Regions from separate parts of the Homo sapiens genome. Here all the other regions are linked to region 4. The links are contacts of gene promoters, found by promoter capture Hi-C in human tissues and cell types (Jung and others, 2019). All regions are on one chromosome and are shown on one strand. Each heading gives the region's core, a stretch centred on a gene start or on the middle of the fragment in contact. The rest is flanking DNA. Distances are from core to core; before and after follow the strand shown.

Region 1 (2,917 bases), core at 31-2,530, 120 kb after region 4:
CCACCTAGCCATCTCCCTCCAATGTGCACATGAAAGCAAATGTGTGTGGACAGACCAAGTAAATTTGTCCCTATGACTATCCAACCATGGGCCAACAGTGCCATCTCCACATAGGAAGACATGAGCACTGACCTGAGAGAAAGCGGCAGTCAGCAGCACCCATCCTTGTCAATTAAATATTTTCTGTCAAAGGGAAATTAAAAGCTTAAGAACCTCTTCAGGAAGGCTGAATTGCTTGCATCTTAAAGACTTATGTCTACTCAGCAGAAAGAGGAATAAGATTCAACAGTAAATCTCTGGTGATCAGAACTTGAACCAGCCTTCCTGGACTGGGAGTAGGAGTTCAGAAATCAGCCAGAGCAGCAGAGGGCAGAGCAGAGGCAGGAGTGGAACAAGGCCTCGGCCCGCATCGACTCCAACGGCGCCCAAGTGAACTGCCTCCAACCACCTGGGCCTGAGGCGCTCACCTTAGGCTCTTGCCGCACAAGGAATCATCCACCATGATTCAACAGTCTAAGAAAGACCCGTTCATAGTGGAGAGTGCCAGAAGCAGCAAGCTGCGACTGCTCTCTAGAGAGAACACCCAGGAGGCAGCAGGTGCTGGGTACTCACAGTTTTATAGAAGGCTTTAGACTGTGTTCCCAGCACCTCGGATTTGGACACCAAGTCATCTAGCTTCTCACCTCGCTCTAACAGAGACTCCATGGTGTTGTGCTGGACAAAAAAGAAAAGAGAATCCAGCTCTGTTCAGTACGTGCCCTGACATGAGCCCCTCATATTTCAGTCATGGGGGAAAGTGCCTTACCTGGGTTCCTCTCCAACACACACAAACTTCACCTCTAGGTGTCGAGACTCGGTCCAAGAATAGTTACTGTCCAAGTGGATGGAACAGAACCTGGTGACATTCCCGTGAAATCTAGAAGATCTAACTGGGATGTAGCAGACTTCCCAAAAAGCTGTCCCCAGCACAGGCTTAGATAACCAGCACTCCAGGAAAACTCATATATATATATACACACACATTTATATATACATTTGTGTGTGTGTGTGTGTGTGCACGCACATGTGCGTGTGCATGGAGCTTTGGAAAAAAGAGTAGCTGGGCACTATATGATTGTACTGGGTTGGAGAGTGACCCACACCGCACCCCCCAACCCCAACCGCATCCCAGAAATTAACATCCCCAGAATCTCTGAATGTGACCATATTTAGAAATAGGGTCTTGGCAGATGTAACTAGTTAGGAAGAGGTAATACTGGATTAGGGTGGCATCTAATTCCATGACTGATGTCCTGGTAAGAAACGGAAACACACACACAGAAGGTCACGTGACGGCAGAGGCAGAGCCTGAAGTGATGCACCTCTAATCCAAGGAATGCCAAGGATGGCCAGCAGCCACCAGAGGCTGGAGAGAGGCCTGGGACAGACACTCAGAGCCCCAAAAGACACCAGCCAGGCCCACAGAGCTATCTGTTAAAAGCAAATATTTGAGGGTTTCTGTTGACAGCAGCCACAGGAAACAAAAGGCGGTGGGAAATGGCTATTGAGCACTTGATGTGAGGCAAGTCCAAACTGAGCAGCGCTCTGAGTACAGACACACCAGATTTCAGATGCAAACTCACACATGCTTCATTAGTAAGTTTTATACTGAAAAAAAAACAAGTTTTATACCGATTACATGTTGGAAAAATTGTATTTGGATATACTGCGTTAAGTAAAATATATAATTAAATTAAATTCTACCTATTTTCCTTTTATCATTTTAAAATATGGCTCCTAGAAAATTCTAAGTTACACACATGCCCCAAATATATACCAGACAGCACTATGACAGAACATGTCCTGCCTTCTAAATGGGCTATGTCCTAAATGTCATCACTACAAACTCTGACTTAGGAAATGAAAACACTGACCCCATGGGAAGGGGTCTAGAGATGGAGACCTCACAAGAGCCAGCAGCTCTGCTGCCAGGGCCCTCAGGAAGCAGCAGCTCGCTTCTCTCCTCAGATGGCCACTGCTGCAGCAGCTAGATGCACACATGAAGCGCCATAGAACAAGGAGCCAGCAAGAATGTCCTTCATCCCTACACACAGCTGAGCGACTCAAATTTTTAACACAGAAAGTTAACTGATTCAGATATGCACACCAATCATCTAGATTTTACAACTGCAGCTAGATGAGGCTGGGTGAATAGGACTCATCCACTCCCCACCGTGGGGAGAGGAGAAACAGCGGGTGTCCCAGGTGTCATGGTACTCAGACTAGGACTTGAGCAACAGAAAGAGATGGCTTGAGGAGAAAACGGAGAAATGCCACCTAGGTGGTAAGAAAGCTCACAAGGTTTCAAAAGACACAGATACCATGAGACTTTCACATCTATCGTTCATTCCAAAGCCACGTTATTTGGAGTGCAGTCAGCACACCTGTGTTTGAAGCCCCTGGGATGCTTTTTATAAAATGCAGGTTCCCAGGCTCCATCGCAGGCCAACAACTCCAACCCCAGGAGACGCTGATGTACACACTAAAGCTATGCCTGTGTAAATGGTAAAGCTTTGTATGTGGGTTTCAATCCACTCCAGGTATCTATCAACTGCTGAGCATGGTATAAACTAGGCACTGTATCATGAGCAGGATGGAAAGATGTCCCAGTGCTCATACGCTGGTCAGGGAGACATGTAAACAAGCAGTGACAAAACTGTGACATCTGGTCAGAAAGGCCCAACCTTCAGGCGCCTGTGTGTGAGCTGGGCAAGAAAGGGTATAAGAGAGAACAGGGCCCAGTCAGGAGACTGTGAGTTAGTTTGCACTTTATCCTGGGGCGGATCTGAGAGCTGCTGAAGGGTTCTAAGTTGTGCAGATCAATGACTACTCTCTGGTGGACAGACTGGAGGTGAGCAGGAGGCAAGGGGACCACTTA
Region 2 (2,913 bases), core at 37-2,536, 89 kb before region 4:
AAAAGTTTATTTTGTATCTCTTGGATTTTGCTTGTCTAAGTGTTTTTCTTCAGAGCTGTACTTTCTTTCTGGCCTGGCCAGTTATTCCCTAAGTCTACCTGTCACGGTTGCCTGTCAGCAGTGTTTATTTTTGTTTTTTGTCTGTGGCACCTATGGGACATTGTCACGATGGTAACCCCGGCTGCAACAACTCAACTGATAAAATCAGAATCTGTTCTGGGTTGGTGATTCAGGGGCTTTGCTTAGGCAGCCCAGTGTTTGTGTTGGGGCTGTGGATAGAGCTTCACAGGAGAGCCAGATCCTCTACTCTCCAGCTGTAGCTTGATGCAGGCATTATCAGAGCTTTGCCTCTCCTGGAGTTTCTCATTGATCCCTTTTCTGTAGAATGGGTATGATGAGTTCACACTTGCTCTCTCAAGGGTAGTAGGAGACAAATAAGAGTGTATGCATAATGCTTTATGTTCTTTAGAAGAAAACTAGAAAGTGTTCCTATTTTACATCGTAACATTTAAAAAAAATCATCTTGCTAGTGAATCTGAAAGAAAACTTCTCAAAATGAAGCTTTTAATTTCATACATTAGTAAAATGTGGTTAGGTCTTTTCCATCACATGTTCTTTGCTCAATCTACTCTGCTCTGTTTAGGAAAAGCAGCTGACTCCCTCTCTCTCTCTCTTCAGTGTACCCACAGAATAGAGACAAGGAACTTTGAGTTAATGACAGATGTTTTTGTGATTGCTCATGTCAGACCTGGGTGATTATAAACCTGGCATTTCATTGAATCACAGAATTGGAATGCTTTTGAAAATTAAACTCCAGAGATTTTTAGTTTAACCTCTCATTTTGCAGATGAGAAAACTCTCATGGTGGGTTGATGGTAGATCATAGACCAGAACCAAGGTCCCGTCACCTCCACCCTGTTTTATGGCCTTATTGCAAATGAAGTCATGATTGGATGTTATTGAGTGACAAGTGAATCTGTTTCCCTTGAGTCTTCTTCCTCTCATAGATTGTGAGTGGTCCTGCAGGCTGGTGCAGTCACTGTTGTGACCTGCCATCTTTGTCCTCACCTTGGGTACCTTTTGGAACACCACCTTAGCCACTAGGTGTGTCATTTATGGCTCTAACTGATCCCCAGGCTTAGATTCGTAGTGAGGCCTTGCCTGTGAGCTTGATGTAAGTGCTGGAATTTGTGTTAAAAGCTCCATAACGTGTTCTTAGAAGTTGCTTAGGAAAAAATGCAGGAAAACGTTTTATTATAGGAAACTTCCATAACAGAAAAGACTAATAGACTGCATTATTTTTGTATTTACATAATTTTTGAGTGCATAACACATTTATATGTTCAAAAGCAAAAACTTGTATAACAACACAAAAATCCCTGTCCTGCCTCTGTGTCTTTTCTGTCTTGTCCTGACCCCTCCCCAGCCAGCCCTAACCTAAGTCATCACATAACTGGTTTTGGGGATATTTCAACAAATATTTTTATGCATGTATAATCAAGTATGAACATGTATTGCTGTGTCCCCACCTTTAGCACAGATGGTGCATTCCACTTTTTAAGATGATCTTACTGCCCCTGCCCAGTGTCATTTTGGCCGCACCAAAGTGACTCCCATCTCTTTTTACTTCCATGTCCCCAAGTGCCTGAGGGGTGCCCAGTAAATTCTAGGTAGACTTTGCTTTCCCTGGTCATCTGGCTCAAGTGCCCCAAACCCACCATCCCTCACACCTGGGACTCCTGTTCTTTGCTTTTGCCCCCTTCAAACTATAGGCTGATTATTAAACCACCCTCTTGTTAATGGACATTTAGGTTGTTTCCAATCTTTCCTGTTGTAAACAATAAAACAATGCCCTTTAATAAACTTCATTTTGCGTATATGCATTTTCATATAGAAAAAATTCCATGAAGTGTAGTTGCTATATTGAAAGGTATATGTATTTCTAATTTCTTTCTTTTTTCTTTTTTTTTTTTGAGACAGGGTTTTGTTCTGTTACCCATCATGGCCCGCTGCAGCCTTGTCCTCCCTAGGCTTAAGCAATCTTCCCATCTCAGTCTCCTGAGCAGCTGGGACTACAAGCGTGCACCACCATGCCCAGCTGATTTTTTGTATTTTGTAGAGATGGGGTTTTCCTTTGTTGCTCAAGAAGCTGGTCTTGTACTCCTGGGCACAAGCAGTCCATTTACCTTGGTCTCCCAAAGTGCTGGGATTACAGGCGTGAGCCACCACACCCGGCCTGTATTTCTAATTTCTGTAAGTGTTGCTAAACTATCTTCCATATGGGGTTATACTAACTTACATATCCATCAACAATGTACAAGAGCCCTTGGTTTTTCACAAATTTGCTGACAATAGTATGTTATCAAATTTTGGGGTTTCGTAAGTTGAATAGATGAAAAATAGTATCTATGTGTAGTATGAATTTGTATTTCTCTTAGAGTGAGGTGGAGCATCTTTCTACATGTGCCTATCCTTTGAACTAGTTATATCTTTTGCCCATTTTCTATTAGGTTGCTGTACTTTTTCTTACTGATTTCTAGGAGTTCTGTATATATTAGAGAGATCAGTCCTTTGTAGGTGATATGTATTGCAGATCTGTTTTCCCATTTTGTTATTAACCTTTTGAGTTGATTTATATTGATTCTCCCGTCTCAGCCTCCCAGGTAGCTGAGACCACAGGCACGAACTGCCATGCCCAATTAATTAAAAATTTTTTTTTTGTAGAAATGGAGTCTCCCTGTGTTGTTCAGGCTGGTCTTAAACTCCTAGGCTCAAGTAATCCCCCTGCCTCAGACTCCCAAAGTGCTGGAATTACAGGTATGAGCTGCCATGCCCAGCCTCACCTTACTAATTTTTATGTATTCAAGTTAATTGGTTCTTTGTTTTTTCATGGCTTCTGAAATTTGAATCAGG
Region 3 (3,065 bases), core at 252-2,751, 110 kb before region 4:
GGTGAGTTAGCATTGTCTTTAAAGTAGGCAGGCTACTGTCATTGCAAGACCAAAGTGTGGTAGATGCTAAACAGATAACAATCAGGTATTGATAAAATTATTGATACTAGATTTTTAGAAAAATCTAAAAAAAGTGTAGAATTATTAGGCAATAAAGAAGTGTAGAATTACTAGGCAAAAGACATAACTTCTCTCTCCAAATGTCTCAGAGGGTTCAAGAATCATCCCATAGTCATAAAAGCTGCTCAGTGAGTTCTTTCCATAGCCAAAGACTTTCTAAAGGGAAAGCAGTGAGTGAGAAAGCAATACTGAGTGTCACGAGACCTTGTTTTAGTCATTTTAAATGGTTTGTTCCTCACAGCTACCTTTTGGGAGAGATGCTATTAGTGTTCCCATTTTATAGGTCAGGAGACCAAGGCACAGAGAGGCTGAGTGACCTAGTCACCGTTACCTGGTTGCTGTGCGGGGAAGCTGGGCTTGACCTCAGGTTGGACACCACGGACACACAGAGCATTCAGGGAAACTGCTTGACTGCTAGGGGACTGGCTTGGAGACATTGATTTGTAGGACATACTTGAGACCAGAGCCCGTGGCCTGGGGTGGCTGCTTGCTGCATTGGCATCAAACCTTTTGTGTGTCTGGCTGAGGTGGCAGGGTATCCACAGTTGGCCTGATATTGCGGGGCGGGGGGGTCACATCCCTGCTAGTAAAGAAGCATGAACTTAGAAATAATGCATCCACAACAATGAAAGGAGCCTGGCGGGTAGGGGAACCTCAGTGAGAGCTGGGCAGCAGGCAGGGAGGCACCACCCTCTAGACAGACGAATCTGGCAAGAGTTGCAGGAAGGCTGGTTAGTGTGAGGTGCTTGTCTGTGTGGAAGCCTGGGAGTAGTGACTGGCTCCAGCCTGTCCCTTTGTAAGTGAAAAGGTTGAAGGCTGCAGAGGCCAAGACCAAGGCCCAGGCTACGTCTGGGTTGCTGGCGTTGGGGCAGACCTGGCAGCTGGGGGCCCAGGGCTGGGGTCCAGGCATCGAGTCATTTTTGAGCACTGAAATCAGCATGAGTGGACGAGCTCTCAGGAGTGAACACTCCTAGGAAGATAAAACCGAGAAGTAGGAAGTGGGCCTGGCAGACCATGAGTTTTAGGCTTCAGAAGCAGGGCAGTGGGCCTCAAGGATGGGTCATTTTTATAATAATGCTTATTTTGTAAAGCTTTGAAAATGAAGAAACCCAGAAGAAAATTCACCGTATTTCCATCAGGTGGAAGAAATCTTGAGTTGAGATTGAGCATAGGCAGAGAAGAGTTGACAGATGAGGAGGAGGATTCATTTGTGGGAGCAGGAGGAAAAAGGGAGGAAGGAGTCATGACGACTCAATCATGGGCTACCTCGAGTGCCTTGCTGAGGCCCTGGCCTTGTCTCCTGGGCCGTGGGGAGCCATATGAGGTTGTTGAGAATAATGTAATCACAGTGGCATGTGAAGAAACTGAGAAGAGACGCAGCCATGGCTGCCATCCAGGTGTGGGATGTGCCAGGTCAGTGAGATGAGAAGAAAATTGATAAGAGACAGGTGAGAATTTCAAGGGAGGGAGTGAGCCATGTCTGCTGGTTGCCTCATACCCATGGCACGTACATCACACACATATATACTGCGTGCCCATACTATACCTTATGCACGCATATGCACACTGTGTGCATACATGCATACCACACACATGCACATAGCACACACACACTGCATGCCCACATGCACCACACACACATTGCATGCACATGTGCACCACACACATACACCACACACACAAACTGCACACACAGTACATGTGCCCACATGCACATGCAGGTACACATGCACCAGCCGCATGCATGTGGCACACACACATTGTATGCACACACGTACCCCACACACACATATAGTGCACACATACTTTTACCACACAGTGCACTGCACACATGCCACACACATGTACTATACACACACACACACATGTTGGCCTAGTCCATTTGGGCTACTATAACAAAATAGCATAGCCTGGGTAGCTTCTGTGAGAAATTTACTTCTCACAGTTCTGGATGTTGGAAGTCCAAGATCAAGGCACCAGAAGATTCAGTGTCTGGGGAGGCCCTGCTTCCTGATTCATGGACCTCTGTTTTCTTGTGGTGTCCTCCCATAGTGGAAGGGATGAGGAAGCTCTTTGAGGCCTCCATGTAAGGGCACTAATCCCACTCAGAGCCTCCACCCTCATGACCTAATCACCTTCTAAAGGCCTTACCTCCTACTGCCATCACCTTCGGGGTTAGGATTTCAAGATACACGTTTTAGGGGAACACAAACATTTCAGACCCTAGCACATATATGTACATTGCACCCAGATGTTGTGGGACCTCTCCTGAGGGGACAGTGAGGTCAACAGGTGGTGAGGTGTGATGACAGCTCTTACACCTGGGATAATGGAAGGAGATGAGGGTGACAGGGATGTTGTCATCTTTGCACAGAGTAGTGGCTTTTGCGCAATGTAGTTAAGGGCAATGTAGTTAAGAGTGTGAACATTTAAAGGGTAGACAGGATTGATTGCAAGAGACATGAAAGAACAGCTGTATTTGGGGTGGTGGAGAGGGGGTTGACAAACCGGGCCTCAATCACTGAGCCCCAGGGGGCGGGAAGTGGGGAGCAGCAAGCTTGACATTTCTGTGCAAACACCTCCGCTTTGGAATCACTGGCTGTGACTTGGGGAGCCAAACCTTGCCTTTAGTCAGGCAGTCAGTGCCTATCATAGGCATTCTCTCTCTGGAGAAGAGCTTGAGGTCAGCCCTTGTCTCATTGAATTATAAATCTATTATAGGTTTGGGGCTCTAGCTTCCTAGACAAAACTCTTCAGGTTAGGTCTTTGACCTCCTTTTACTCTTCATTTTACATACTTGCCACTAGCTTTTTGAAAATCAGAATTGTCTGATCCTGTTTTGTTTTAGAGACAGGGTCTCATTCTGTCATCTAGGCTGGAGTGCAGTGGTACAATCATAGTTCATTATAACCTTAAACGCCTGGGCTCAAGCTATTCTCCCACCT
Region 4 (2,817 bases), core at 10-2,509:
AGGTGAGAGGGATGAGCAGGATAGGCCCAGAATTGGTCCTTGGGGAGCAGTAAGGAAGTCATATCAGGGCAGCAGCGTGACCCAAATCCAGAGCTGGCTGCTGGAAACCCCCTCCTCAGAGCCTGCCCAGGATGGACCCCGTCAGAGAAGAGTGTGGGGATGCTGGAGCCCAGTGGTCTAAAGTCCCGGTTCTGGACAGCAGCCCTGGTGCCAGGCCTCAGGGAAGGCTGTTTTGTGGGAAACCGGGTCGCCCTGCCTCCTGCCTGCCTCCCTGCACTCTCCTCCTCCTTGGCTGCTTTCAGGAGGGGGTTGGGGTGTGTGGGCCCTCCTCCTCCAGGCAAAAGCAGGGGGCAGGCAGGTGGACCGTGCTGGAAAAGGAGAGAATGTGCACCTTTACCTGATCAGGGTGGCTGTGAGCTCTCAGGCCCCCCAAATTGCTGGTGGAGCAGCCCCTGTTCCCCTGGCTCAGGGTCCGTTGGTCTGGACTCCGAATGTTGCCTCCTGGGACCTCCATTCCAGACAACCCAGCAACCAGTCTTTGGAGAAGTGAGGGGGAAGGGAGGGGCTGGGGCCAAGGGGAGGGGGCAGGCCCCACCCTTTCACTTTCTCATGCTAGTGACCCAGTGTGTACACTGCCTTCTGGGCGGTTCCTCCTGGCCAGGCAGCCTTTGGGGCATGTGTGGCTGATGGAGACTGGGCAGAAGGGATCTGGCAGCATCTCTTCCTGAGGGTGTGAGGAATGAGTCCTGTGGAGGGCAGCACATGAGCCCTCTACCTCCATGTGGGCCCCAGTCCCCTCCTGCTGTCAGGCTAGGTGGGCCTTCGAGAGAGAGAGAGGAGGCTGCGTTCATTATGTGCACTCTTCTGTGTTATGTGAGAGCGAGGGGTCGGCAGCAGCAAGTGGCCTGCGTGCGCGAGGTGCGGGCGTGGTGCGGGTAGAGGATGAAGGCGTCAGTACAGGGCGCGGGTGTGTGTGTGGGGTGCGGGGGCGGGCGGGGGCGGGCGCGCGTGTGAGTGCAGGTGCAGGTGCAGGTGCGTTGCGGGTGCGGGGCAAGGGTGTGTGTGCAGGGCGCGTGTGCAGATGCAGGGCGCCGGTGCCCTGCGGGTGCGGGTGCAGGAGCAGCGTGTGCAGGGCGCGGGGAAGGCGCGTGCAGGGGGCGGCGGGCGGGGCGGGCGCGGCGGCGGCGGCGGTGACAGCGGCGCCCGCGCCTCCCCGCGCGTAGGTGTGCGGCGCGCTCCTGGCGAGGACGGAGCGAGCAGATCTCGCGTGCGCTCGCCGCCCGGCGCAGCCCAGCCCGGCCCCCGCCTGGCGCCGCGAGCCGAGGTGTCTCCCGCGCCCGCGCCCGTGTCGCCGCCGTGCCCGCGAGCGGGAGCCGGAGTCGCCGCCGCCCGAGCGCAGCCGAGCGCACGCCGAGCCCGTCCGCCGCCGCCATGGCCACCACGGTGACCTGCACCCGCTTCACCGACGAGTACCAGCTCTACGAGGATATTGGCAAGTAAGAGCAGCGGCGCGCGCGGGCTGGGCCGGGGACCCCAGAGGGCCGGGACCTCCGGGACCCTCCGCGCCGCCGGCTCCAGGCGCACTGCGGGCCCGCGCGCCGCCGGCTTCTCTGGGCTCCGGGCCCAAGCGCACGGCCCCGCGCGGCCCCGACCCGCGAGCCCCCGGCCCCGGGCCTGGCTGCCTGACCTCAGCGCGCGCGGCCCTGCCCAGCTCTGCCCAGCGCGGCTGCCGGGCCGGGGCTCCGGGCTCGCGACTTGGCGCGGCGGGGGCGGCAGCAGGTGTCCCCGGAGCGCCCGGCAGACGTGACGCATTTGGCGGCGGGGAGGTCAGAGAGGAGGGGCGCGCGGGGGTGGCCCCCGGGCCTGGAGCGCCGGGAGGGGTCGGCTGCGGCCCCAGAGGGTCGTCCCCGACGCGGGTGCGCTGTCCCCACCCCCACCCGAGCGGCAGGCGGCGGGGGTGGCGGGACCTGCTTGCGCCTGCTCCTGCGCGTGGCCCCATCCGCGCTGGGGGTGCCGGCGTGGGAGAGCCTCTGCTGTAGGTCCCCTGGGGAATCTGGGTTCTGGAGGATTTTCCCCCAGATTCTTCTGGAAACAGGAATTTGGAGGTGTGGGGAGGACGAGGTCAGGGAGCCTGGATCAGGTCATGGGGATAGCGGGGAGAGACTAAGAGCCTGACTGGATTGCAAATTTCAGGGTCATCGAGGTGGATGGGGGCTGGATTTTGGACTGTTGGCGGGGGCGCCCTAAAGGGGAAGGGGCTTTGAAGGTTTGTTTGAAGTGGGACCTCACGGGGAACAGGTGCTGTGGCTCCCGTTCTCTCCTTGGCAGTATGAGCAGTGTAGGGCGAAGGTCTGGTTCGTGGTCCCCGGACCCGGCTTTGCCCCTGGGGTGAGATGGGGAGCGCCTCAGGGGCCTCCTGTCTGGCCTGGGGTCTCCCGTTCTGAGAATCAAGGTGGCTGCACCTGGCATCCCTAGGGCTAGCTTCAGAACTCCTGAATCTCCAGCCTGACTGGGCCAGAGCCCCATCCTCCTGCGTCCTCCCCCATCCTCCTCCGTCCCTTCAGTGCAGGCGGTGGGGGCGCTGGCGGTGCTGGCGAGATTTCCTCTTACACATCCAGCAACAGATCCTTTTTTTCCTTTACTAAATAAGTGTCTGGTGAAACCTTGTGGTGGGTGAGGGACGCTGATCATTGATAATTGTGGAGTGCGGAGCTGGAGGAGTGTGGGGGTGTGTTCATTCCCCACTTCTCCCTGCACGTGTGGAGAGAATTCTGGTAGGGGTTAGGGATGTGGAGCCCAGCCCTGCAAGAAGCCCAT

What was found. The method cuts DNA at HindIII sites, captures the fragments that hold promoters and counts their contacts. A contact is called where the count stands out against the background at its distance.
Region 1: a fragment that was not itself captured here is called in contact with the fragment with the promoter of CAMK2B in region 4 in 2 of the 25 tissues and cell types used here (dorsolateral prefrontal cortex and lymphoblastoid cells).
Region 2: a contact is called between a fragment that was not itself captured here and the fragment with the promoter of CAMK2B in region 4, in 3 of the 25 tissues and cell types used here (IMR-90 fibroblasts, dorsolateral prefrontal cortex and lymphoblastoid cells).
Region 3: a contact is called between a fragment that was not itself captured here and the fragment with the promoter of CAMK2B in region 4, in 3 of the 25 tissues and cell types used here (dorsolateral prefrontal cortex, mesenchymal stem cells and spleen).

The regions. Positions count from the first base shown.
Region 1 is chr7:44,208,820-44,211,736 of GRCh38, reverse strand. It overlaps YKT6 (YKT6 vesicular SNARE protein), which reads right to left. Exons shown (of 7, transcript NM_006555.4): 6 at 613-714. Among named protein-coding and RNA genes, the nearest start is that of YKT6, 9.3 kb to the right of the region's middle. The HindIII fragment of the contact is 4,219 bases long and covers 1-2,917 here.
Region 2 is chr7:44,413,095-44,416,007 of GRCh38, reverse strand. All of the region lies in intron 3 of NUDCD3 (NudC domain containing 3), which reads left to right. Among named protein-coding and RNA genes, the nearest start is that of NUDCD3, 76 kb to the left of the region's middle. The HindIII fragment of the contact is 4,891 bases long and covers 1-2,913 here.
Region 3 is chr7:44,432,184-44,435,248 of GRCh38, reverse strand. The region is part of intron 2 of NUDCD3 (NudC domain containing 3); the gene reads left to right. Among named protein-coding and RNA genes, the nearest start is that of NUDCD3, 57 kb to the left of the region's middle. The HindIII fragment of the contact is 4,995 bases long and covers 1-3,065 here.
Region 4 is chr7:44,324,036-44,326,852 of GRCh38, reverse strand. CAMK2B (calcium/calmodulin dependent protein kinase II beta) reads left to right here and starts at 1,259. Exons shown (of 24, transcript NM_001220.5): 1 at 1,259-1,496. The coding sequence starts at 1,432. The HindIII fragment of the contact is 12,993 bases long and covers 1-2,817 here.